Linked DNA regions of Homo sapiens: all the other regions are linked to region 3. The links are contacts of gene promoters, found by promoter capture Hi-C in blood cells and fetal thymus (Javierre and others, 2016). All regions are on one chromosome and are shown on one strand. The core of a region is centred on a gene start or on the middle of the fragment in contact, and the rest is flanking DNA. Distances in the headings are between cores, read along the strand shown. Region 1 overlaps KYAT3 (kynurenine aminotransferase 3). Region 2 overlaps KYAT3 (kynurenine aminotransferase 3). Region 3 holds the start of ZNF326 (zinc finger protein 326). Region 4 overlaps GTF2B (general transcription factor IIB).

The links. The method cuts DNA at HindIII sites, captures the fragments that hold promoters and counts their contacts. A CHiCAGO score of 5 or more calls a contact.
Region 1: a contact is called between a fragment that was not itself captured here and the fragment with the promoter of ZNF326 in region 3, in 6 of 17 cell types (activated CD4 T cells, total CD8 T cells, naive CD8 T cells and 3 more). The highest score is 9.6, in activated CD4 T cells.
Region 2: a fragment that was not itself captured here is called in contact with the fragment with the promoter of ZNF326 in region 3 in 9 of 17 cell types (neutrophils, naive CD8 T cells, total CD8 T cells and 6 more); the score reaches 13.6 in neutrophils.
Region 4: a fragment that was not itself captured here is called in contact with the fragment with the promoter of ZNF326 in region 3 in 2 of 17 cell types (activated CD4 T cells and monocytes); the score reaches 5.9 in activated CD4 T cells.

Annotation. Positions count from the first base shown.
Region 1 is chr1:88,962,539-88,969,078 of GRCh38, forward strand. It overlaps KYAT3 (kynurenine aminotransferase 3), which reads right to left. Exons shown (of 14, transcript NM_001008661.3): 4 at 6,132-6,276; 5 at 2,291-2,440. Among named protein-coding and RNA genes, the nearest start is that of KYAT3, 27 kb to the right of the region's middle. The HindIII fragment of the contact is 2,075 bases long and covers 319-2,393 here.
Region 2 is chr1:88,980,060-88,986,372 of GRCh38, forward strand. The region is part of intron 2 of KYAT3 (kynurenine aminotransferase 3); the gene reads right to left. It overlaps RBMXL1 (RBMX like 1), which reads right to left. Exons shown (of 3, transcript NM_001162536.3): 3 at 1-4,007. The coding sequence starts at 3,767. The coding sequence ends at 2,595. Among named protein-coding and RNA genes, the nearest start is that of KYAT3, 9.4 kb to the right of the region's middle. The HindIII fragment of the contact is 4,277 bases long and covers 728-5,004 here.
Region 3 is chr1:89,990,289-89,996,554 of GRCh38, forward strand. ZNF326 (zinc finger protein 326) reads left to right here and starts at 4,822. Exons shown (of 12, transcript NM_182976.4): 1 at 4,822-4,985. The coding sequence starts at 4,970. It also overlaps the pseudogene GEMIN8P4. RefSeq lists enhancers at 4,474-5,040, 5,041-5,606, 5,488-5,537 and a silencer at 4,628-5,267. The HindIII fragment of the contact is 7,808 bases long and covers 1-6,122 here.
Region 4 is chr1:88,874,113-88,880,802 of GRCh38, forward strand. All of the region lies in intron 2 of GTF2B (general transcription factor IIB), which reads right to left. Among named protein-coding and RNA genes, the nearest start is that of GTF2B, 14 kb to the right of the region's middle. The HindIII fragment of the contact is 2,406 bases long and covers 2,719-5,124 here.

The DNA of each region.
Region 1 (6,540 bases), core at 106-2,605, 1.0 Mb before region 3:
TATAAGCAGTGACAGACAGCAGGCTATGTGGGAAGAGAACACTGTAATGTTCCCTGGTATAAAGTGCTAATTTAAAAGCATTATCTTGAGAGTAAAGATGTTTCTCTCTTCTCAAAAGCACGGTTAATTTTTGTATTTTTAGTAGAGATGGGGTTTCGCCGTGTTGCCCAGGCTGGTCTCAAACTCCTAACCTCAGGTGATCTGCCTCAGCCTCCCAAAGTGCTGGGATTACAGGCCTGAGCCACCACACTCAGCCTCATCTGTGAAGTTCTCAGGGACTAAGACAATCTATCTTTGTAACTCTAGTGGGAAATATAAAGCTTAATACAAGGTGAGAGCACAATAAAGGAAAATAAATTGGAGAGGCAGGGCAGTAGAGTGGGAGAAATATACCTGTTACTCTTCGCCTTGATTTTTTCACTTTTATGATGTGAACAATTCCTCTCTCTCTTTTTTTTTTTTTGAGAATATTTATTGCGTCCTCACTATTTTAGGTGCTGGCAGTAAAGCTATAAAGTTCTCCTAGAACTTATATCCTACTGAGAGAGGCTTATAATGAACGGAGAGACAAATAAGGACATTAGATAATTTCAGATAGTAATAAATGCTATAAAGAAACAATAAATAGGTCAGTATGATAGCAAGTGACATGTATGTGGTTTCAAAATACTAGATAAGTTGATGAAGGAAGAAAGAATAGAGGAAAGAAAGCTAAGGGCTAAGCCTTATAATACTCCCAACAGAGTGCAGAGAAAGAAGCAACAAAGGATTAACAACATCGAAGTATGAGACAAAACTATGTATAGGATTAAAGGAGTTTATGTATATGAAACTGTGAACTTCATTAACATGTTTCCTTAAACATCTTGTCTGGCATAGTGAAGGGAATCAAAGTTGTAAAAGAATAACATAACACAAAGCAGATAGTGGCATCTTTCATAAAAGTGGTATGATAAAGGGTTATGAGAGTTTAAAGAAAGTTAACAATATAGATCAGGATAAATATTCGTTCTGCAGTCCCAGCTTAAGCAATGTCTCTCTGGAGCTTTCCAGACTTAGCAGAGGTGATTGCCTCTTCCTTTTGTCACTACCATAGTGTTCCTCGTAATCCATTTGCAAGTCTGTGTTCTCTACTAGACAGGGAACACCTTCTGCATAGAATCTATCTTTAAAACATCTTCTATCTCACAGTGCTTAGCATATATTGGATCCTCAGTATTTTCTGAATAAATGAAAGAGGCAAAAAGTATTAAAGTAAGGCTATTGGAATGCTAATGGGAAATACGGGTAGAGATGACTGAGGTAGTTGCAAAAGTTGGTCATACCTCACAGTACTAAATCGCAGAAATCATTTTACCTTCCTATTATATTAATACATTCTCAGCTGGGCGTGGTGGCTCACGCCTGTAATCCCAGCACTTTGGGAGGCTGAGGCAGGCGGATCACCTGAGGTCAGGAGTTCGAGACCAGACTGGCCAACATGGCAAAATCCCATCTCTACTAAAAATACAAAAATTAGCTGGGCTTCGTGGCGGGCGCCTGTAATCTCAGCTACTCAGTAGGCTGAGGCACGAGAATCACTTGAACCCGTGAGGTGGAGGTTGCAGTGACCAAGATCGTGCCACTGCACTCCAGCCTGGGCAACAAAGTGGGACTCCATCTCAAAAAAACAAAAACAATCACAAAAACATCCTCACATGGGATGGCTTATACAATTACTGGGCACACAAAGACATTGATCAAAAACTTGTAGACCAAGTTAAGAGTAAAGGTTATTTTAGCAATGAAAACAAAAGATTCTTTTTCCCTGGCAGTGTTAGTCCCTTCCATCTGCCCTTATTTAAATAGGCTATAAAAATAAGAATAAATTATATGCAACAAAATGGATGAATCTCACAGACACAAAAATAAATGAATGGATCTAGACCCAAGAGTATACACTGTATAATTATATTCATATTAAGTAAAAGAGCAGTGAAAACAAGCCTATGGTAATAGAAGACAGAAGAGTACTTACCTCTGGGAGAATATAGACTCTGAAGAGGAACAAAGAAGTTTTCTGGGTACTGGAAATGTATCATATCTTTGTCTGGTTGTAGTTGCACAGAAATTTACACAGTAATTTATCCAGCTGTACATTTAAGATTTGTGAACTTTACTGTACATGCATTATACTTAAAACATAATTAAAAATAAAAAGAGAAAAGAGTAGAATATAAGCGAAAGATTCAAAGGTGGGACAAATGATAATTGATTAATATGGGTATTACGATAATGTTAATATACTTACTTCATCTCCCTCATCAATTAATGCTTGAATGGTGTTAAAAAGAGATCCATATGCTCCTACTGTCACAAGGATTTCTTTATTTGAATCAATTTGCTTTTGATAAAGCTTTTCATACAGATAGGACAGAGCTTTCACAAGTGATGGATGGCCCTGTTGGATTAAAAATAAGAACAAAACCTTGAATTTAAATATGGGACCTACTGTTTGAGGTAATATGGCTCTAAAATGTAAGAATTTTTAAAATTTGGATTTGATGTTTATAATTACCCCAAGAAAATTTATATTTTTTAATGGCAATAAATTTTTTAAAATTTCCTACATTTAGAGTATTCCCACACTATTTGTCATGAAGGCTTGCTAATGATTAAAACTTCTTACTAAATAAAGGGTTTGGGATTATATAATTTCAAAGTATTTGCTTTGAATAAAAATCAACCATTTGTATTTTTTGACAGTAATTAAATCATATTGAAAAGAGTTGGATTTGTTTCCCAGTTAAAATAAGTGAAAAAAACCCACTTTAACTGTATACCCACTCCTTGGCTCTTCCTGATTGCTGGAGAGATGGTTATGCCAACCAATGGACTAGGGAAAGAGAACAAAAACAAATTCACCAACGACACGAACACTAGTGTTGATGTGATAGCAAATGTTAGAAGGAAGTGAGACACTACTCACACTGACAGTCAAGAGAGCAGTGGTTATCCAAGGTAACTACTTTCATAGGAGAAGTGAAGGGATTATGAAGGTACAGCCTGAGGCAAGCAGGGGGTCTGAAGACTCCTGGATTAGCTCTCCCTAAGTTCTCTTCTAGGCTCTCTCCCCTTCCTTCCTTTTTTTTCTTCCTTTTCCTTTCCCCCTCCTTGTTTTATTTGGTATTTAGGTCAATATTTCCTGTTGTTTTCTGTCCAGCATCTACCTCCTCATTTTGCTTTTGAAGTACCATCCTGATTTTCTATCCCTTGAGAGTAAGAGTGCAAGTGCAGGTCATGTACCTTTGTTTGAAAGCACTTTGGGCTCTGGAGCAATAAACTGAGTTCCTTTGAATTTTACTTTAATAGCAGGTCTAACAAATTCTAGCAAGAGGAGATCTGAAAAGCAACTATAAACACTATATACATTTCTTAGAATGATAAGTGTTTGTGCTTTTAAAATTAAAAATTTAAATACAAAAATAATTTATGCTTCATGCAATAAGTAAAACTAGGCAAAGATGTATAAAAATTACAATCGCTCCTCAATATTATTTCATTCCCATCCCCCTGAGGTGATGAATGTCCACAGCCTGGTGATAGTGCAACACCACTCTCAGTGCTTATACCAATATAAAAACACATAGACATGTATATACCTATGTATTTACAAAAACTAGAATATACATATTAATAAATAAGTGGGTATGGTTGTGTTCTAATGAAACTTTATTTACAAAATTTGACATATTGGGTCCATAGGCCATAGATTGCAAAACCCTGCTATAGACCAATTTGGGAAAACTGACATAGACAATATTTAGTCTCTCAATCCATGAACATCATTCCCAATTTATTTAGGTATTGCTTAATTTCTCTCAGTAATGTTTTATAGATTTCATCGTACAGATCTTGGATATATTTTAAAAAATTTATTCTTAAATGTTTTGTGTTTTGGGATACTACTATAAATAGTATTTAAAAAATTTTACTTTCTAATTGTTCATTTTAATATATAGAAATACAACTGATTTTTGTATATTGGCTTTGTGTCCTGTGACCTTGCTCAATTCATTTATTAGTTGTAGTAGGCTTTTTTTTCTTTTAGAATTCCTTAGGATATTCTATGTACACAATCATGTTTTCTGAAAATGAGTTTACATTTTTCTTCTTTCTAATCTATGTATCTTTATATCTCACAGGACTCCAGTACACTGATGAATAACAATGGTCAGAGTGGACATCTTTGCTGTCTTTTCAATCTTACTATATTATGTGCACTACAGGTGTAATCTGTAGGTTTCTCATAGATTCCTTTTATCAGAGTGAGAAAGCTCCATTCTATTTCTAATTGGCTGAAAACTTTTATTATAAATGAGGGTTGAATTTTGTCAGATGCATTTTCTATATATACTACATAAGATGATCTTTTTTTTCTGATAATATAGCATAATTGCAATGATTAATTTTTGGATATTAAAACTAATCCTGCATTCCTATGGTAAACCTTACTTGGTCAGGATGTATTACTTTTTATATCTTTATACACACAGGCACACACACATGCACACACACATATCTGGATTTGATTTGCTAAAATTTCATAATCTTTGTTTCTATGTTCATGAGAGATATTGAACTGGAGTTTTCTTTATTTCTTTCGCTGGCATTTTTTAAATCAGTTTTTGTATCAGGGTAATGCTGAAACTAATTTTATGAGACCAGCATTACCCTGATACAAAACCCCTGATTAAAAGTTCAGACAAAACCATTAGGCATTTCTTTATTTTTCAAATTACAAAAATTGTTGATCAATAAGTAAAAGTTTTTCATCCTGCTCCACTTTCTGAATAAATGTGTGCAGAACTGGTATTATTAGGTTTGTGCAAAAGTAATTGCGGTTTTTGTCATTAAAATTAATGGCAAAACCGCAATTACTTTTGCACTGACCTAATAGTTCTTCCTTAAATACTTGATAGAATTCACTAATAAGCCATCTAGGTATTGAGGTTTGTTTGCAGGAAGACTTTAATTACAAATTCATTTTCTTTCATTGACATAGGGCTAGTTGCATTTTTCATCTCTCCTTGTGTCAGTTTTGGTAATTTGTATCTTTTAAATAATCTGTTCATTTCATCCAAGTTGTCAATGTACTGACATAAAATTATCCATAATATTATCCTATTATTGCTTTCATGTTTGTATGATCAGTAATGATATTCCTTCTTTCATTCTTCATATGGTACTTTGAGTTTTTTCTTTTTTATTGGTCAATCTAGCTAAAACTTTTACTTATTGATCTTTTCAAAGAACCAGCTTTTGGTTTCATTAATTTTCTCTATTGTTGGTTTGTTTCTAGCCTTTCATTATGGATTTGTATAGGCTGGGGAGTGAGTTATGTTGAGTAGGTCTGAGATGGGGGTCTGTAGGGTGGGCCAGGGAGTGAGATCTATGAAGAGCAGGGATTCTCACCAGTGTCAAACCCTGTGACACAGGTAAGTTTCACTGCTTTTCCCTGTGCTATTCCCAAAGCAAAACCCTTCTATGGATTTTTATAGTTAGACCACTATAGAAGACAAAAAACAGGCTTCCTCCTATACCATTCCCCTCCCCATTTCCCACAATATCATAAAAGGAAAAGACAAGTGGTCAGACATATGATAATTGTATGGCTTTTGGCACAACAGATACAAGTCTACAGTTCAAAGGTACGTCTGATCTAGAAAATCTTTGGCTATCCTAGGCATTTCATTACAGAAGGATGGGAGTGAGCTGGCACAAGGAGGAAAAACGTAGCTAGTTGGATATATTAAATAAAGGGTCAGTGCTCAGGCTGCATAAATGTTGATGAGATAGAAAAGACATGTCTCAAGAGAATGTTGTTCCTTATCGTGTTGCCATAGGATCCTATCTTGGAGCAACAGTAAAGTAAGGGCCAAAAGAAAGAAAAGTGTAGAGGGGCTGGAAGTAGGCGAAGGCTCATCTCAGGACATAGGGCAAGGGCAGAAGTTTCTGTGGTTGCTAGGATGGGACAGCTGGTCCCAGAAAGTCACTTATATATGAATGACAGAAGGGCACATGCACACACACAGACACACACCCCAGTATAAAATAAAAGCTCATGGCCCATATGGTCTTGATATACTTACAAAGCCTCGTGTATACTGATTCAGGCTATCGATTGCTGCAATCTTTGATAATTCTTCTTTTACATATGTAGGAGGGGATATATCTGGAAAGCCTTGGCCAAGATTCACAACAGAAGGGTCTGCAGCCAATTTGGTAAATTCAATCCTAAGATTGAAAAAAATACTAATATTAATAAGTTCTACAATTATAAAGTTCGCTTTTTTATATCTTATAGTCTTACCACAAAACAGACAAATAAGACCCTAGTTTAGTCCTATAGGTTTTAAAAAATGAGTTTCCAACAAAAATTTACCAACCACAAATCAGTTTACCAAATAGAATGATGGCTGAATTTATGAACCCAATGTCCCTTACAAACCTCAGTTTCACGCTACCCATATTTTAACCACATATATATATTTTCTCAAC
Region 2 (6,313 bases), core at 1,616-4,115, 1.0 Mb before region 3:
CAAAAAAGTACATGCTACACAATCCCATTTATATAAAATACTAAACACCACCACAAAGCAAACTAATATATGGTGACAAAGACAAATCAGCAGCGTGAGGGATGGACTGCAAAGGAACTTGAGGAATCTTTTGGGGGCGATGGAAGTGTTCTGCATGTTGATGGTGACAGTGGCTTCATGGCATATACATCTGTCAAAATAACCATTGAGTTGTAATTCTAAACAGATACAGTTTACTGTAACTTGATAAAGCTGAATTTAAAAAGCTGCCAGAGTATTCTGAAATCATGCCTTCTTTTCTCCCTCTGGACCAAGCACCCGCCCAAGCAAGCCAACTTTAACAAAATTATCTCATAGATTTTGGATTTTTTTTTTTTTTGCCATGTTAAAGTTGTATTAAGTTTCAATACAAAACATTCCAAAAAGTGAAAAGTGATCTATAATACCCAAGTTCTATGTTCAACTACCACTTAAACAAGGAAAACATTTTCTAATATCATTCTGTTTTACAACCAGTATAAACCCAGAAGAATCAAGATCTGATTCTTTTTCCACACGTCTGCTAGTTCAGTAAACTATTTATCAAACAGGTGTCTGGTCATTTTAACATACTCCTTGCTTTGAACAATATTCATTCATATTTGGTACAAACTCTATATCCTATATTTAGGATATCTAAATATTTTAAATATTTAGGATATCTTAAGAGCCAAAAGGTCCTCACAGAAGCTTTAACCCAAGTAATCATAAGAATATGGAAGGATTCGGCTAAGACAACTATGGAAGTGTAACAACCACATAAATTTGGTCATTACCCTTGTGGTCTGTGATTAGTAGTAGTCTGCCAAATGAGAGTTAAAAATGTTGTACTTACTATCCCTAGTTGCAAATGTTAAAACATGACAGTGCCATAATTACAACAAAAAAAATTAGAAGTTGAGTTAGTTCCTCTAATCCAACAACTCAAGTCTGTTTCCTTTGAGAACATTACACTATTGGCTCTAGTCTCCAAAGCAATAAACTAAAACTTGTTTCCAAGACGGGGAGGTAAAGCAGGCTTATAAAACAATACAGCAAAAGAAAGCCAAGTGGCCCAATTGTTTCCAGTGTGTTTGCCATCTTAGCATGGTTGTTACTTTCCAGATGTCACTCATAAGTTTTATTCTACAACTAAACTGTTTGTGGATAAGCCACCACAAAAAAATGTTTCACTTACTGACAAGACACTTCACCAGATAGAGCTACCACTTATATCCATCATTTTTATAATTCATCTTAAGTTCTAAATTGAAGAGTTGTCCCCATGACTTTAGCTAAACAAAATGAAACCCAAAGCTGTAAAATCTGTGTAAAGGACCACGAGAACCTCCTGACTACCTCCACTTACCAATTTCCTTAATTACTTCCCCTTTTCCATTTGGTCAATTACTTAAGTAACTACCACTCACTCCCTAGTTATGAGTGTTAATCAACACTGATGCCTTCCTGAGATCCACAGGAACCCTTGAAGGCAAAATCTATTGCCTGCACCAAACCAATTCTGACAGCACTGCTTATGCAACTGCACTGACTTACCAACAATCAGCCGCCTTCTGCTTCAACAACTCTTAGCATTTGATTTCTCTTACTGCCAGCGTTATCTACTGTGAATCAATCAGCACTCCACAAACATAATGAGCACAATCTTCAACCATCTTTGCTGTTTCACAGGCATTTGATGCTTTAAATCTGATGTGGAATGCTGATAGATTCACTTTTTAGAAGTCATAAGCCTTTAGGAAGTTGGAGATAAATTCATTGCTTATCTATTTTCTCCTTTGCAATCAAGCTGTTCCTTTAAAAGTGAGACATTAGAGTTGCAAAAATTTGAAAGAGTAAGAGCAAGCACCTTTGCAGCTTCATGGTTGGTTTTGGCCAAACTTTTTATTTAGTATTCCGTAGTTGTTTAGCACACACTTAAATGGTCTTATTGTGGGAGGGGAAAGGGGAGGTTCTTGCAGATTCCCAAGGAAATGTCAGAAAGGCAAAATGGCCAGCATTATCCATTTGCTTTTTTTGGGTTTACTGGGTGAATAGCACTTTCCTTACATAGGCATCTGATTTCAGGTTTTGCATACTGAGAACAGTGAGATTTCAGTTAGAAAACACCCTGAAATCTTATGAGTAGCATACTCCAACCACCCTCTAATAGCTAGCTTGTTTGTATAGGCAGAATGATTCATCTCTCCATTTTAGTTGGCTAGATGTTTTGTGGAAGATCTTAGAATTGCTTGCCTCATTTACTGGGAAAAACCAGATAGGAAGTGGTCTTTAGGGACACCTTTACTTGGAAAGTTACAACACTAGTACTACAAGGCTTAACACATTTAACATTTGCTTGTTGAAAAGCAATGTCATAAAGTCAAATAAAATTAAACATGTTTTACTTTTTTCCTCACAAGAACATAAAAATTACGGAAGGGACTTAACAGGGAATTTAAAAAAGGTAACACAATTTTTCCTTTTAGTAGTCCTTGGGTAGTTATGATAGAATAGTTTCCACTCTTTTTTTTGTTTCTTTGAACTGGGATTTTGGTCCAAAGTTTTGTTTGTTTCTAGTATCTGCTTCTGCCTCCCCCTCTATCAGATCGGCTTCCTCCAGGGCCAGCACCTCTTGGTGCTCCGCGGCTTGAACTGCTGTAGGAATCACGTGAAGAAGGGTACCCCCTTTCTACAGAAGGGGGAAGCCCTCTTTCTTGTCTGCCAACCCTGTCACAACTTGAGTAGAGATCACTTCGGCTGCTTGAGTAACTGTCTCGACTTCCACCATATCCATCACGTGAGCTGCTATAATCATCATAGCGACTGCTTCCACCATAAGATGGCGGGGGCCCTCGTGTAAGTGGAGCACTACGTGAGTTACCATAACTCTCATATGAATCTCTGTAGGAACCTCCACTTGGATGATCTGAATAGTCACGATCACGACCATATCCATCTCTATCGCCATAGCCTCTTGATGGATAGTCATCACGTGAACTGGAATGACCATAATCACGGTAAGTATAATCTCGTGGTGGTGGTGCATAATCTCTTGTATCACGAGAACTTGGGTAATCTCTGCTTGAATAGCTGTCTTTAGTAGAATACCCATCATCTCTTGGGGACAAATAAACATCTCTACGAGAGGGGAGCGGTTCCCTTCGAGGTGGACCTCCATAACTATCTCTTCCACGTGATAGAGGAGCTCTTCCTCCCATTCCACTGCTGCTGCGAACTAGTCCTGAAGGTGCAGATCTCTTAGGAGAAGGACCCCCACTTCTTGGTGGTGGTCCTCTTTTTACTGGGAGTGGTCCCCTGGAAGAACTCATGTTAAAATTCATGGAATATCCACCATCATCCATGTGTCCTCCTCGTGAAGGAGGTCCCCTGGTTCCTCCACTTCCTCCTCTTCCAGCTCCAAAACCTCTTGGAGGACCTCTACTTCTTGGAGGTGGGGGCGGTCCATGTCTACCTCTTTCAAATGATGGTTTGGTGGCTTGTTCCACCTTGATGGCTTTTCCATCTAATGACTTTCCATTCATGTCTCTGGCTGCATCCTTAGCGTCTGCTGGGCTTTCAAAGGTGACAAAAGCAAATCCTCTTGATTTGTTGGTTTCACGGTCTTTTATCAAGAGTACTTCCACTATTCGTCCATATTTGCCAAATACTGTTTCAAGAGCTTTCTCATTTGTTTCCGTATTAAGCCCACCAATGAAGAGCTTTCCTGGGCGATCTGCTTCAACCATTTTTTTTTTTGCCGGTGAGTCGGAGGGGTGACAGTGGGTTCAAGCTCCAACAAGCTCGCCGACAGGGGCTTCCTAGCAGCTCAGCACCAGTGGCGGCTGTCAGTTAGGAGGACTGAACCGCGAAGCCGCTAGCACTACTGCGCAATCTGGATGCTTTTTAAGGTATGGCTATCCATTCAAAAAACCAGGAAAATTACTTTCTTTTGCCACTAGATGGCAGAGGAAAACAACAGAATGTTCCTGTAATGGTGGAAGAAATGAAAGTAAAACTCAGAAGTGGAAATGTAAAGCAGGGAAAGATGCTTAAAGATACATAAAAAATGCAATTATATTAAGCTCAAAAGTGTGTATAATTAACAGGAGCCCTTTTTTTGTTGCTTTTTTTTTTTTTTTTTTTTTTTTTTGTAGACAGGAGTCTCACAGTGTTGCCCAGGCTGGAGTGCAGCGGCGCAATCTTGGCTCACTGCAACCTCTGCCTCCCAGGCTCAAGCCATTCTTGTGCCTCAGCCACCTGAGTAGCTTGGATTACCGGCATGCGCCACCACACCTGGCTAATTTTTGTATTTTAGTAGAGCAGGGTTTCACCATGTTGGCCATGCTGGTATGGAACTCCTAGCCCAAGTGATCCGCCTGCCTCGGCCTCCCAGTGTTGGGATTATAAGGGTGAGCTACCACGGCTGGCCTTAACTGGAACTTTGAAACAACATATAGTTTGTTACTTTATTTTATAAAGAATTATTTGTGCCTGATACGCTGTAGCTATTTAACATCTGTTGACTGAACAGATCTGCTGAGTGAAAGGGAAGCAATTTGGACTCCCTCTGAGAGATAATGTATTTGGGGAAAAAATTGTACTTCAATAGAAAACTATGCACTGGCCACAGCACAGCTTTAGGGCTGATATTTGCAGGGCTAGAATTTGCCTTTGAGTTATTCTGGGCTTTTGTAAATTGAAGCTAAGTGACAGGCATGCAAATTCTGGTTCTAGCATTTTGATTATCTTCCCTCCACCCTGTAGAAAAAACAGTTTTGCCTTCATTTGCAATCCAATTCCTTTACTACATATGAATTTGTGCTTTTTGACTTTCCATATGTACTGGTTATAACTTCTGTCTGGTTACTTCATATCACATGAGTGAAATAAAAATCTTTAGCACATGTTCATTTTTATATTTGTATGAGTCATGATTTAACCTTTTTCTGAAAATTATATTTTAACAATTACTTCAGAGAAACAAGCTTATTGGAAACAAGGCTTTCTCTAAATCTGAAAGCTGATAACAGCTAAATACATGGCTGGAATGCCAGAAATGGAGTCAGGCCAAGTGGAGAACAAAAAGCCTGGTTTATTCTCTCAAAAAAAATTGGGTTCAAGCCAAGACCTTGGAAGAGTGAGTAAGTGAAGGGAGTGCGTGAGTATTGTCCTCACCCATATCAATAGGCCTGGGGCCCTTCTGCCTGCCTACACTGTGTAATCTCAGCTCCCCCAATCACAGCTATAAATCAGAGTTGGACAGTCAGGCTGAACCAATCAAGACAACTAGAAGTTTGGGTTTGAGGCTGAGAAACAGGCTGTTTCTTCTGGGCACATGAAACAGAAGATTGGTAAGTTTGAATCTGGGCAAGTCTGTGTTCAATCCCTCACACACATGCCATGTTCTGTGCCAAAAACACACCTACGTTCCAAGTATATTGTTCAAGGTTGTTTAATGCAAAGAGCTTTCAAGCCAGATAGATCTTAGTTCAAAATTAAACATCAAAACTCCTAGTGTGTGAAGTAGGCAGGTTACCTGACATCTCTGAAATTCAGTTTCCTTATTTGCTAAGCAGGAAAATGAATACCTGCCCCATGTAAGTGCTATGGCAATTAAATGAGGCAAAGCCATAAGCAGAAAAATATAGTTCATGGCATACAATATATATACTCCAAAACTAGTGCCCACTCAGAAAGTAGGAAAGATTCTCTTAGATACAAGTAAGGATGAGTAACTTTGCACTAAAGGAGGCAAAGAGATATTGGGTATGGACTAAATGTACAAAAGGTGATACTTTCACATCAAAAGAGAGGGTTGGGCTGGACGCAGTGACTCATGCCTGTAATCTCAGCACTTTGGGAGGCTGAGGAGGGTGGATCACTTGAGCCCAGTAGTTTGAGACCAGCCTGGCCAACATGGCAAAACCCCGTCTCTACAAAAAATACAAATATTGGCCGGGAGTGGTGGCGGGCACCTATAGTCCCAGCTACTCAGGAGGCTGAGGCAGGAGAATTGCTTGAACCCGAGAGGCGGAGGCTGCAGTGAGCCGAGATTGCGCCATTGCACTCCAGCCTGGGCGGCAAGAGTGAGAGACTGTATGAAAAAAAAAAAAGAGAGAGAGAGAGAGACAGAGAGAGTTGATTTCCTTAAGGAAGGACAGACCTAAGGAAAAGGTTTTGTCCAGTGTTGCTTTTGCGCTTCTCTGGTGGACATTTAAATTTTAGACTCTCTTAAAAAAAAAAAAATTAATAGACTATTTTAGGGCCAGGCGCGGTGGCTCACGCCTGTAAT
Region 3 (6,266 bases), core at 3,572-6,071:
AAATGGCATGAGACTTTGTACAAAGCATTGGCCCTTTAAGATAAAAATCTGCGCCTAACAAAGTAAGAACAGGACAGGCAGCCTAGCTAGACTGTGGGGGGTAGGGGGTGGGAGAGAGATAACTGTGAAGTGAGAAAATGATGCTTGGTACATAGTTGGTGTTCAGTCAATATTCGTTTAATAAATGAATTAGGAGACAGCTGGATAGTCTCATGTATTGTGAGATATCTCTGCGGTATGGCCATCTGCCTCTGGAACAGCACCTCCTATTTGGGAAAGAGGAGGGAAACAGGAAGGAAAGGGAGAAAATATATGTGTATTGTGGCTTTCCATGCATTTGTGCCAAGGTCAGGTTTGTTTCTAAGTTAGGAATTCCTTGTCTGGCAGTCTTCTCTTTTAGGGAAGAGGGGCGTGTGTGTGTATGTGTGTGTGCACACACATACACACATGACACACAAATACAATGACCCAATATTTATTCCCTTCTAGTCATGCCAACACCTAAAGACCTCAGGCTACAAAATCATTTCTTTGCCAGAGGAAAACGGGGGGAAAATTATAAGAAAAAAAAGCTAAAAACATTCAGTGAGAACTCAGTTTTCTTGGTAAACATATATATTTGGCACTTAAGATGCAAAGAAGTCTTGATTCTAATCCCAAAGAGCTTTTAATGTGGGAAGACATAAAGCCAGGGTATTTAATGCATGGGAGATAGTGCAGTCACAGAACCCAAGGCCTTCCTACTCCACGTGTGGCTCCACCAGCGGCAGCATCTCCTGGAAGTTTGTTAGAAATACAGACTGTCCAGTTCCACCCAAGACTGACTGAATGTGATTTTTGTCTTAACAAGTCCCTAGGTGAATCATTTGCATGCTAAATATTTGAGAAGTACTGACCCAGGGGGTGGGGTTGGGATCTGGGACTGATTCTTACAGGAAATAAATCCTGAGCTGTGTTTTGAAGATGAGTACGGTTAACCAGGTGGTGTTCCAAGCAGAGGAAACAACATAAGCAAAAGTTCAGTGGTATGAAAAAGCACAGGGGTGTTTTGGGAACCTGTCGCCTAAAATTGGTAATCAAAAGAGAGAGTGTGGGAGAGAGGAGGCAAGGGAAATGCAGAGAGATGACGCAGTTCAGGCAGTGGCCAGATCCTGCTGCATGTGTTCTAGGGTAAGGAGATTTGACTACACCTAATCCTTGACAGAGACGCATGATGACATGTTGAGATTTGCATTTAGATCACTGCAACCCTGAGGAGGCTGAAAGACAGAGAGATTAATTAGGAAGCTGAGGCAATAGTTTTGGAGAGAGATAATGAGAGTCTAAACTTAGGTTGTGGCAGTGGGGATGAAGAGGAGGGGGCAGGTTTAAGATATTTTAGGCACTAATAAACAGATGAAAGACTTCAGAATGGATTGGAGGTGGGAGGATGAGGGAGGGCTGAGTTTTGACTAGATGACTCGTAAGCTGGGATTAGTGTGTGGCTGTTCATGATGCCACTAACAGAGATGAAAGGATACAGGAGGACGAACAGGTTTGAAATTATGAGTTCAGTTTTCAAAATGTTCAGCTTAGGTGAATATAAAACATGTATAGATGGTCTCTGACTTACTATGGTTTGACTTTATAGCTGTGTGAAAGTGACGTGCATTTAGTAGAAACTATAATCCAATTTTGAATTTTGATCTTTTTGCAGGCTAGTGACATGAAGTAGGATACTCTTTTCCAAGGCTGGGCAGCGTCTCCCAGTCAGCGATGTAATCACAAGGGTAAACAACTGATATTCTACAATGTACTGTGCTGCCAGATGACTTTGCCCAACTGTAGGCTAATGTAAATGTTCTAAGCACATTTAAGGTAGGTTAGGTGAAGTTATGATGTTCAATAGGTTAGGCATATTAAATGCATTTTTGACTTGTGATATTTTCAGTTTATGAAGGGCTTATTGGGATGTAACCTCAAGTAAGTGGAGAAGTATCTGCATAGAAGGGAAAAAAGGAGGAAACAAGAAAAGGGTGGAGAACAGGGTGAATCAATCAGGATGGAGGAGGAAAAAATGCTCTGCCCATTTCCGGGGCAACAGTAATACACATAGTGTATCTGTGAGCTTTTCTTGTAGTTGTATTTCCAGAGGTTGCCTCCTTGAAACTTGGTTCCAGCAACTGGGTGGACCCTGAAAAAAGGTAAATAATTTGATTCATGGTTTCCTATCTGGTGATCAACTCATTGTTGCCACCGTTTGCTCTATGAAAAAAAAAAAGTTTTTTAATCTGTGGTTCAAACTGCTCCAATGTCAGTTTGTCTTTTTCCAGATTCCTGAATGTTTGAATAACTTTGTCCATGTCTCAAACACTGTTTCCAAAGTGGCAATAATACAATCCAGTATGTGTGTGTGTGTTTCTATAGGTCATCCTTCAAGCTCTGGATGACTCTTCTGCCACAAATCTTACCCATCTGTGAACTGTTACAGCTCTTTTATTTGCACCTTAAAATTCAGAACTGGATCATAGCCTGTCTCTAAAGTTATTTTTTCTAGACTTGACATTTTCTCAAGGAGTACAGGTTACTGAAACAGAAGAGAAATTAGTCCAATAACATCTCTTTTAAATGTCTTGAAAATAAACATTGGTGACAGTTTTGGTTCATTATCAAATCAGAACCCCTGAAGTGAAACCTGAGTATTGGCACTTACTAAAAGTGCCCTGGAGGATTCCAGAGTAGAGTCACAATCAAGAACCACTGACTTAAATGGCCAAGAGAGCCCCCCACCTCCGCATCACTAAGTATATCTTCAAAGAAAATGAAACATAATATTTGGCTAAAGAGAACTTTTAACAAACACTAATCATTAATAAATAATAAATCTTGTTTTAGGCCAAATATATATTTTACATTATGAAAGTGCTCAAGAATTTGGAGATATAGAAGAACACATAATCATGTGTATATAAAAAGTCATCACAAAAAGAATCATCGTTCATGTTTTAGAATTCTTTTTTTTTTTTCTAGGCAAGAACTTTAATGAATTGAACTGTTACTGACAACATAAAAAACCAGTATAATATATACAAAATTATCATTTTATGTCAGGATAAAATTTATCATGTTGGCAACAGAATATGTCCTGCCGACCTCCAAGTGGCTGGCACAGTACATCCACCCCGTGACAGGCCCACTGGGACTGTGGTGAACGTGCCTGTACCTCAGTACAAAGTCCCCTTTCCCTGAGAAATGTACAGAAGGAGAGATGAAGAGCGCGTATCCAAAAGGAAGAGGAAGAGGCTGGGTGCCCTGTGCCCCGAGCTCAGAACTTCGGGGGGATGACCGGCCAGTAATTAGGCTGCTTTGGATCACAGTGCTTGTCAAAGCTCAGCTGCACGTTAGCCTCCATGGCCTGGATCTTGGCGGCGCTGTCCCAGTACAAACGCTTCATTTCGGCCTGGCGCCGCTCACCAGGCCTCTCAGCTGGGGCCTCTACCGACCGGCGGGTGTTGCAGTACAGGTCGTGTTCAGCGTTCACGTAGCTGTTCAGGCGCTCCGCATCCAGCTGTTGCCGCCGCAGTAGTTCTTCTCTGTGCCTCTCTGTCTCTGCAAAGTACTGGCGGAGCTCTTCGGTGATTTCCATATTGCTCAGGTCACATGCTACCTCTGCATCTGACTCGGTCTCCATCTCTTCCTCCTTGGATAAGGCTTGGTCTTCTCTTGTGGATGCCTGGATCCTACTGCTGCCATGTGGATGTTGCCCAGACCCTCTGAAATGTGAAGAACTGCAGGGGGAGTCCTGCTAGGCCACATGATGGTCATAGAAGGACTGAGGATACGCAGCCTGGTTATCGTAAGAGCTTTGGGGAAGAAGCGCAGGAAGGAAGAACCATGGAAGACTGAAACAGGATTCCACCGCCTTCCTGTAGGCATTGTGGTGGCTTTGCATCCAAGCCATTGCTTGATGATAATGTTGCCAGTATCTTGCATATACTGGATGAGAATACCAAGGCCTGGTAGCTTTTGATGTTGATGCCTTCACCACTGCCATCTCCGATTGTGAAAGTCCAAATGGGTGCCGAAACTTGTGGGCGCGCAGCTTGCAGATCCTGGGCGGTGGCCAAGCAGGCCATGTTTTAGAATTCTTTCCAGGCGGGTCGCATTGGCTCACGCCTGTGATCCTAACACTTTGGGAGGCGGAGACGGGGCTGGGGGTGGGGGGATCGCTTGAGTCCAGGAGTTGGAGACCTGCTTGGGCAACATGGCAAAACCCCCATCTCTATAAAAATAATTTAAAAATTTTTTAAAAGAATTATTATTTCCATTTTATTTCAGTGCTTTGTCCTTTAAGAAAATTTATTGACATAGCGATAATCAGACTCCATACGCTATTTTGTATCTTGCTTTTCAAATTTGCCACAGGCTTCTAGAAACGTCCCAGACTTCTGTGTCTCCATGGAGGAAACCCCGTAAGTACTTACAAATGTTATGATTAGTCATCCCTAGCCAATACTAAGCAAAAGGTAGGCATGCGGTTTTATTAGTTTGGGCAGGAAGAAGGCATTCCAACCGGCTTCTTTCGCTCTTGCCAGGTTCAAACATGGCGGGCCGCAGCCGGCCCTTCCCGTACACTCGGCTTGCTTTCCCACAACCCCCGCCAATCTTTAGCGCTCCTTTTTTACCTTCCTTCCCCGTCAGCGGCTCCAGAGGGTCAGCACCTCCGAGCGTGACAGCGGACCTGCTTCCCGCCCCCCACGCGAGGGCCCGCCCACCAGCCCGCGTCAGCCAATAGCAGGCCGCGCCGATGGGGCTGGTAGCGCCGGTCGGCCCCGCCTCCCCAGCCTCGCTGTGGCCTGCGGCTCCCGGGCTGGTAGCGCGCCGCTCTCGGTCGCGCGGAGTGATCGTGTGGAATCGCGGGTCGCGGACGCTCGCCGCCGGCCATAGCTCAGCCTAGCGCCGCCAAGGCCGACGGCCCTCAGCCTCTGCCATGGACTTCGAGGACGGTAAGCGCTGCCTCTGGCTGGTCGGCGCAGCTGGCAGGAGGCGGGGTGGCCTACGCAGGGGGTCTGTTTACCGTCTCAAGATGGCCGTGTGGGCTTTGTTCTGCGGGCCCGGAGGCCGCCCGCCCGCCCCGGGCCCAGCGCCCGGAGTCGGCCTCTTTGGGGACCCACGCGCCCCGATTCGGCCCGCTCGGCGCCCGCTGCCGGCGGAGACAAGAGAACTCGGTGTCCGGTAGGACGCGCCTAGAGCGCGAGAGCCTCCGGGCTGGAGCCCCAGACTCGCCTTGGCCCCTGGTAGTGGAAATTGCCCCGACGTCTCCAACTTCCCGGTCTCGGGCAAACGGGCGAGTGCGGCCTCACCCACCTAGTCTCGCATTCGCCCCACAGGGCAGCGACCCAGACCGTCCGTTTAGTTAATCCTCAGCCTCGGGTTACTTCTTGCCAGATAGAATTTTCAGAGGCTTGTTCACAGTGATGTTTCTGTTTGTCCCGGTTTAAGATGAGTTGAAAGGGTGTCTGTAAGTGATATGTATAGATAAATATCTATGCAAAATGGAAAGCAAGATGTTTCCTGGTTAGTAAACTGGGGTGTTTATCACCAAAAATTACCTGCTTATTAATCCCTAACTTGAAATATTTATGTGAACCAAAGCACTTTTCTTTGGATCGTGTGTAGGTAGGATTTAAGTTAATCAGAATTTTGGCACAGCAAGCATCAAATGTCCTTCACATTTAGACCTGTACACAGCCTTGTAAGTGTTTGACTTACGGATTAAATAAACTGTATTTTAGCAATACTTTTCAGTTGTCTCAGATACTAATTCTTTAAACCACTTTTACAGGGTCACAAAGTAATATTAATTTGGTCTTCACTTTTGTTTTCAAACCTTGCTTGGAATTGGTGTCAAGATAAAGTGGTATGTAGTGACAACATTAGGGAGACATGGGAAAGGACTTATGTGATTAAACTGGATTTAATCCTGAGTAACCAGGCATGCTTAAGTAAAACCAGTTCACTAAGTAGGCTGTAAACTTTTAACCCCACCAAAAAAATGATCTTTAAATGAGGTGTGATCTCAGCATATGTCTTACTCGATGAGCTTTTGATTTTTCATAACATTTCATGCAACAAAGAATTAAAGCTTTCATATCTAGGTACAGATTTGTGAAAGGGGACTGGAATAGCCCTCTTGTAGATACTTTTCAGTTACTTTGAAATAGTAAGTTCAGCTCTTAAGAGTAGCACACTCTCGTGGTTTTGTTTGTTTTGGTTGGACTTTAACT
Region 4 (6,690 bases), core at 2,672-5,171, 1.1 Mb before region 3:
CAAGCAACTGGAAATCCAACCAAAGGTATTTCATAGCGCAATGTGAAAACCAGAAGGGCTTATCGTGCAGGGGAAATTGCAACACACCAAAAGCAGCCAGGAAGTAAATACTGAGGAGGGTCTGATTTTCTAGCCTGACCTAGACTCTTAAGAGTGTTTTTGCTTCTTATTTCTTATTGCAATTTAATAAAGGAATTTAAAATTTTGTTTTATTTTTTGGAGGTGGGGTCTTGATCTGTCACCCAGGCTAGAGTGCAGTGACACAATCATATCACTGCAGCCTCAAACTCCTGGGCTCAAACAATTCTCCCTAGCTACTTGGGGGAACTAATTCCCCCAAGTAGCTAGGACTATAGGCTTGCGCCACCACACACAGCTAATTAAATTTTTTTTTTTTTTTTTTTTTTTTTTTTACAGACACCGTCTCACTACATTGCCTAGGCTGGTCTTGAACTCCTGGCCCCAAGTGATCCTCCCGCCTCAGCCTCCTGAGTTATCAGGATTACGGCACAAGCCCCTGGCTCCTCAGAAAGGAATTTTTAAAAACAGGAACATGAAGAGGAATTTCCCAGAATTTCAATTCTTTCTGCTGTCTTCCTGGAAACTAATCTTAATCACTGTGGCATACAACCTGTAGTAGAGAATTCAGAAGTAGAAGTCTCAGAATAAACCCAAATTACTTGTCTTCACAGGCTCATTTAGTTTACAAACTACGTATGTTGTTAAATGTGCTGGTAAGTCTAAAAGTTCAAGAATCTGAACGTATTATTATTCAACGTGGACAAACTCTAAACATCAAATATTTTTACATTTAAAGTAAAAAAAAAAAATCCAAGGTACTTTGGAAAACTATTTTAAGTCAACATGCTGTAAACAGTCTAATGTTGATGATGAAATGTATCATTAGCTTCCACACTTTCTGTGGTCATATAATCCTTTCTACCATTCCTTCTCATGACATGTCAAATAATCCTAATTTTTAGTCTAGGGTCACTATACATTCTTACTGAAATTTTGCATTAGACAATTTTGAAGAGAATGCTGACCAAGAGATACTTTATAAAGAAATACTATTAATAATACAGCAAGTCTCTAAATCACCAGTCTCTAAATCACAGTTTATGTTGCCATAAATTGAGTAGGAACTCAACATGAATTATCTCCTAGAAACAAAGCATATCACAGTTTATTTCCCAGACCAGCCCATAAAAGCCTACTTTGCCCCTGATGTTTAGACCGTAAAGAAAACTGTTCAAGGTGATAGTGGAAAATAGTGAGGAAAATACATTGTAAGCTCCATCCCTGGATATCTTATTACATTTCAATTTTCCTCAAATACAAGTAGGTCGATAGGAGCAGCAGCATCTAAGATGAGGAGCTGATGCACTGGTTGAAGGTGTATCCTAAATTTGGCCACAATAAATTTGGCCACTCACTCACTACTACTGTTTAGGCTTCTATCCTATGGCATAGGTTTCTTTTTCTCTTTACTTGGAATCATTTTCTCTCCATAAATCCTTACTCATTCTTAAAAACTATGCTTCACTCGAAATTCAACAGTACTATCTTCAGGATGTCACCATACTCGGAAGATCTGTAATGTAGCTTTTACCGCGGATACTGTATTAAGTTACCCTACTCTCTTTCATACACTATCCAAAGAGTTGCTCCAGGGTTTGCTTACAGCATTCTCATCTTTCTATCACTCTCAGTGACCAACCAGCACAGTGCTTAACTGAGACATATGGTAAAAAAAGGTTTTTAAGTCCCATAGACCTGGATTTATGTGGCTCTGTCACTCAGAAGATGGGAATCTTGAGCTAGTTACCTAAGCACTCTGAGTCTCAGTTTCCCCTTCTGTAAAATGGAAACAAACCAGCTCAAAGGGCAGTCTGCTACTCAAGCAGTTAATGAGTAATTTTTTGATGTTTAAGAGAAAAACTGCACCCAAATTAAAAGCTGTATTAGGCAAGAAGGCTGTGTCTAACGGCTTACAAGGGATGCCAAAGAAATAACTTGTAAGTGAATACAAATACGTTTATTTTAAAAACTTAACTTGGCCATATTAAATGAAACCTGATTTTTTCCTTTAGGAAACACTGTTAATGCTAACTGAAAGAGGGTAACCCAATAATCTTTAACATACTATAATTGGAGCATTAAATATACCAGACCCACAGCAATCACTCAAAGATATGTTGCAACTGACATGCTATGAAATGTGGCATCTCACACTTAGAATCACCCTCTTTTTCTACAAGGTTAAAAAAAAACAAGGGGGAAGCCGAACACAGTGCTCATGCCTGTTCTAGCACTGTGGAGTCTGGAGCAGGAGGATTGCTTGAGCCCAGGAGTTCGAGATCAGCCTGGGCAACACAGGGAGATGCTGTCTCTACAAATATTAATAATTTTTTAAAAAATTAGCTGAGGGTGGTGGTTTGAGCCCGTGGCGACAGCTACTTGGGAAACTGAGGCAGGAGGCTACCTGAGCCTGAGAGGTCAAGGTTGCGGTGAGCCATAATCATGCCACTAGCCTGGGCAACAGAGCGAGACCCTGTCTCAAAAAAAAGCACTTGTATCTCCACAATATGTATCAGTGAAATCTTATACTAAAATTACACTATATATTTTATACATTATTTCATCTGACTCAGCAATTCTGAGATGTATCTGTCTTTCATGGGTGAGGAAAAAAGATTTTACAGATGAAACAAATTAAGCTTGAACAAAGTATGTAACTATAGTTACACAGCTTACTAATTAGTAAAGCCAACCCTCAATTCTAGAGACACTGACTTCTAGCTATACTAGGAGCAATGGAGACACACAATTATAAAATATATGCCCCAAAGGAGTTTGCAGTGTAGGTGTGAAGACATGGAAAATATGAAGATAAAAAATCTAAACGTACAGAAAATCCAAAAGAATGTGGTAAATTATAAAGTAGTACAGATTTGTGTTCCTCAATATGTTACCAATGTATGACCTACATTAGAATTTCTGGGAATGGAGCCTAGAATCTTTTTAAGCACATTCCCCAGCTGACTCTTAATGCCCATTTATATATTCATATTTCAGATTCGCTGGTATAAACAATATGCAGAATGAGTTTAGTAGAAGGGAGAGGTCAAATGGACTCATTTCTCTCTTTCAAATATACCTAAGCTATTTTCCAGTATTTTCCTTACGTTGCTTTTACATACAATCAAATAATTTAGATTTAAATGGTACACAAAAAAGTGGCTTTAACTAGAAATACTACTACTAGTTTCAAACAACTCCTCATTGTGAAATAATTTATAAAGTCATGATAGACCAATTTTATGTTTTAATAGCAATTATGGCAGGTTACTAAGCTAATACTTTACTGATTATAAAAATCAATTTATGGGCAATGTACAAGGTCAAATTCATGAACTGATTATCTAAATACAATAATACTGCCACCTAGTGTTCAACTTTTAAAACGACATAATCATACAATTGGAATTTGGGAAAAAACCCCCACAAAAGAGTGCTGTTAGAACAAACAGTTTCGGCCGGACACAGTGGCTCATGCCTGTAATCCCAGCATTCTGGGAAGCCGAGGCACGTGTATCACTTGAGGTAAGGAGTTTGAGAACAGCCTGGCCTATATGGCGAAACCCTATCTCTACTAAAAATACAAAAATTAGTTGGGCATGGTGGTGGTCACCTGTAATCCCACTACTCAGAAGGCTGAGGAAGGAGAATCACTGGAACCCGGGAGGCAGAGGTTGCAGTGAGCCAAGATAAAGCCACTGCACTCCTGCCTGGGCGACAGAGCGAGACTCGGTCTCAAAAACAAAACAAACAAACAAGCAAAGACAACTAACAGTTTCACAGTAGGAACAACAAAACTTTAAGAATTGGCCCAGGTTGGGCGTGGACATTTTGGGAGGCCAAGGCGGGTAGACTGCTTAAGGCCAGACGTTCAAGACCAGCATGGGCAACACAGCTAAACCTCGTCTCTACAAAAAAATACAAAAATTAGCCAGGTGTGGTGCTGTGTGCCTGTAGTCCCAGCTACTCAGGAGGCTAAGGTGAGAGGATCGCTTGAACGAACCAGGGAGGTGGAAGTTGCAGTGAGTCGAGATGATTTCAGTGCACTCCAGCCTGGGGAACAGGGTGAGACCCTGTCTCAAAAATAAAAAAATAAAAAATTGGTTGTTTTAGAGTCACTACCAGTATCTCAAGGATCACTGATGAAATGGGCAGCTAATACCAAATCATAACACTTCATATGTTTCAAATAAAAATCTTGTAATTCAAATAAAAGAGAACCAATTAAACAACTATCACATGTTGAATAGCATTAACTATAGCTACAAAAATTGGAAACAAGTTTTAAGAGACACTAAATAATACATAGCTATTTAAATACTGGGGAAAAGCATTATCAAAGGACAGTAAATGTGTGACAATTTGTATTTTCCAAAGATGGCAACAATATCTCCCATCCACATGTTCTTCTGCAATGTGACCTCGTCAGTATCAAGTTTAGGTACAGCCTATTTCCCCATTCCCTTCAACTCAGGTGGGTCCTATCATGGCTCTGACGAATACAATACTGAAGTGATCCTGTGCCAGTTCTAGGCATAACCCTTACCTACCCATGTCTAGCTTCCACTTTCTCAGAACACTTGCTCTTGAGGTATTTCTCTTAGAAGCCAACTACCACGTAGTATAAAATATGACTACTGTAAGACAACTATGGAGAAGCCCTGGAGGATGACAGATCCATGTGCGGAGGTCAAGGAGCACGGAGGAACCAGAAATGCAAGTGAAGAAGTTATCATAGAAGCAGATCTTACAGGCCCAGCCGGTGCCAACTGCCCAGATAAATCCTTCCCAAATTACTGACTCATAAAATCATGAGCAAGATAAAATGGTTGTTGTAAGCCACTAAGTTTTGAGGTAGTTTGTAATGTAACTGTAAATGAAACAAAAATTGGTTCCTGAAGTATTATGTTGCTTTAAGAAAAATAAACACTTGCCTCTTGTTTTCAGATTGGTGGTGGGTGGGCCTCAAGAAGAAGGAGGTTTGACAGACAATGAGATAAATGTTATTAGAGGCAGGAAAAAAGGTATAAAGTATAAGATATAAGCTTATAAGATAAATATACTTTTGGTATTATGAATTATTTCATTAAAAAAGGTGATAGTGGCCAGGTATGGTGGCTCGTGCCTGTAATCCCAGCACTTTGGGAAGCCGAGGTGGGCAGACCACCTGAGGTTAGGAGTTCGATACCAGCCCAGCCGACATGGTGAAACCCCGTCTCTACTAAAAATACAAAAAATTAGCCAGGTGCGGTGGTGGGTGCCTGTAGTCCCAGCTACTCAGGCAGGAGGCTGAGGCACGAGAATCGCTTGTACCTGGGAGGTGGAGGTTGCAGTGAGCCGAGATAGCACCACTGCACTCCAGACTGGGCAACAGAGTGAGATTCCATCTTAAAAAAAAAAAAAAAAGTAATAGTAATGGGCTCTCTTAGTTGCTAACACAGATGAGAGGGTGACATATGGCTCTGATTATGCAAGTTGGGCCGTATCTATGCTTAAGTTTGCTATTAAGAGGAATTAGTGACAATGGGTTGTCCTAATTTTCAAGCACAAATTAAACGTTAATTAAATATAAGACTGTCCAGCTGGGCGCAGTGCCTCACACCTGTAATCCCAGCACTTTGGGAGGTCGAGGCGGGTGGATCACCTGAGGTCAGGAGTTTGAGACCAGCCTGGGCAACATGGTGAAACCCCGTCTCTACTAAAAATACAAAAAAATTAGCCGGGCGGGGTGGCATGTGCCTGTAAATCCCTGCTACTCCGGAGGCTGAAGCAGGAGAATTGCCTGAACCCGGGAGGTGGAGGTTGTAGTGAGCAGAGATTGTGCCACTGCACTCCAGCCTGGGCGACAGAGCAAGACTCCTCCATCTCAAAAAAATAAAAAAGAAAAAGAAAAAGAAAAGAAAAATGGGACTGTCCAAAAACAATTCTGAAAATGTTTACTGAATTAATATGGTTTAATCTAAAAAGTTTCAGACAATGTAAAAAATTTTATGGCAAGCATAATCAATCATGTATACCAAGATAATTTATTAGGAAACACTTGATGTCTGGATTCAAATTCCCATGAAAAACAGTAATTTAAATAAGAAAAAAGTCACAAATGTTGTCCCTTAGTGGGTTGTAGAATATTTGCCCACCTTGATTTCTTCCCCATTTTCTTAGTGTAAGAGGTAAAGGCTGAACTGAGCTGGCAATGAAGAGCAGATGCCTTTAAACCAGCGAGCTGATGCAAATTCAATTACATATACAGTCACATGTTGCATAACATTTTGGCTTAGAATGGACTATATACACAATGGTGGTCCCTTAAGATTATAATACTGTCTTTTCATTGTACCTTTTCTATGTTTCGATATATAAATACTGGAGGCACTGACTCCAGAGAGCTGAACACATTCACATATATGGCAGGGTCTGTATGCACCCTGACAACTCACAGAACAATGGGATGAAAGGATACTTTCTCCCACTTTTCATAGGTAAACTGGATAAGTTAATGTACCTGAGTACCTACAAAAATGTAGTAAGTGGGGCCTGGCGCAGTGGCTCACACCTGTAATCCCAGTACTTTGGGAGGCCGAGGCTGGGGGTATCTCTTTGAAGCTAGGA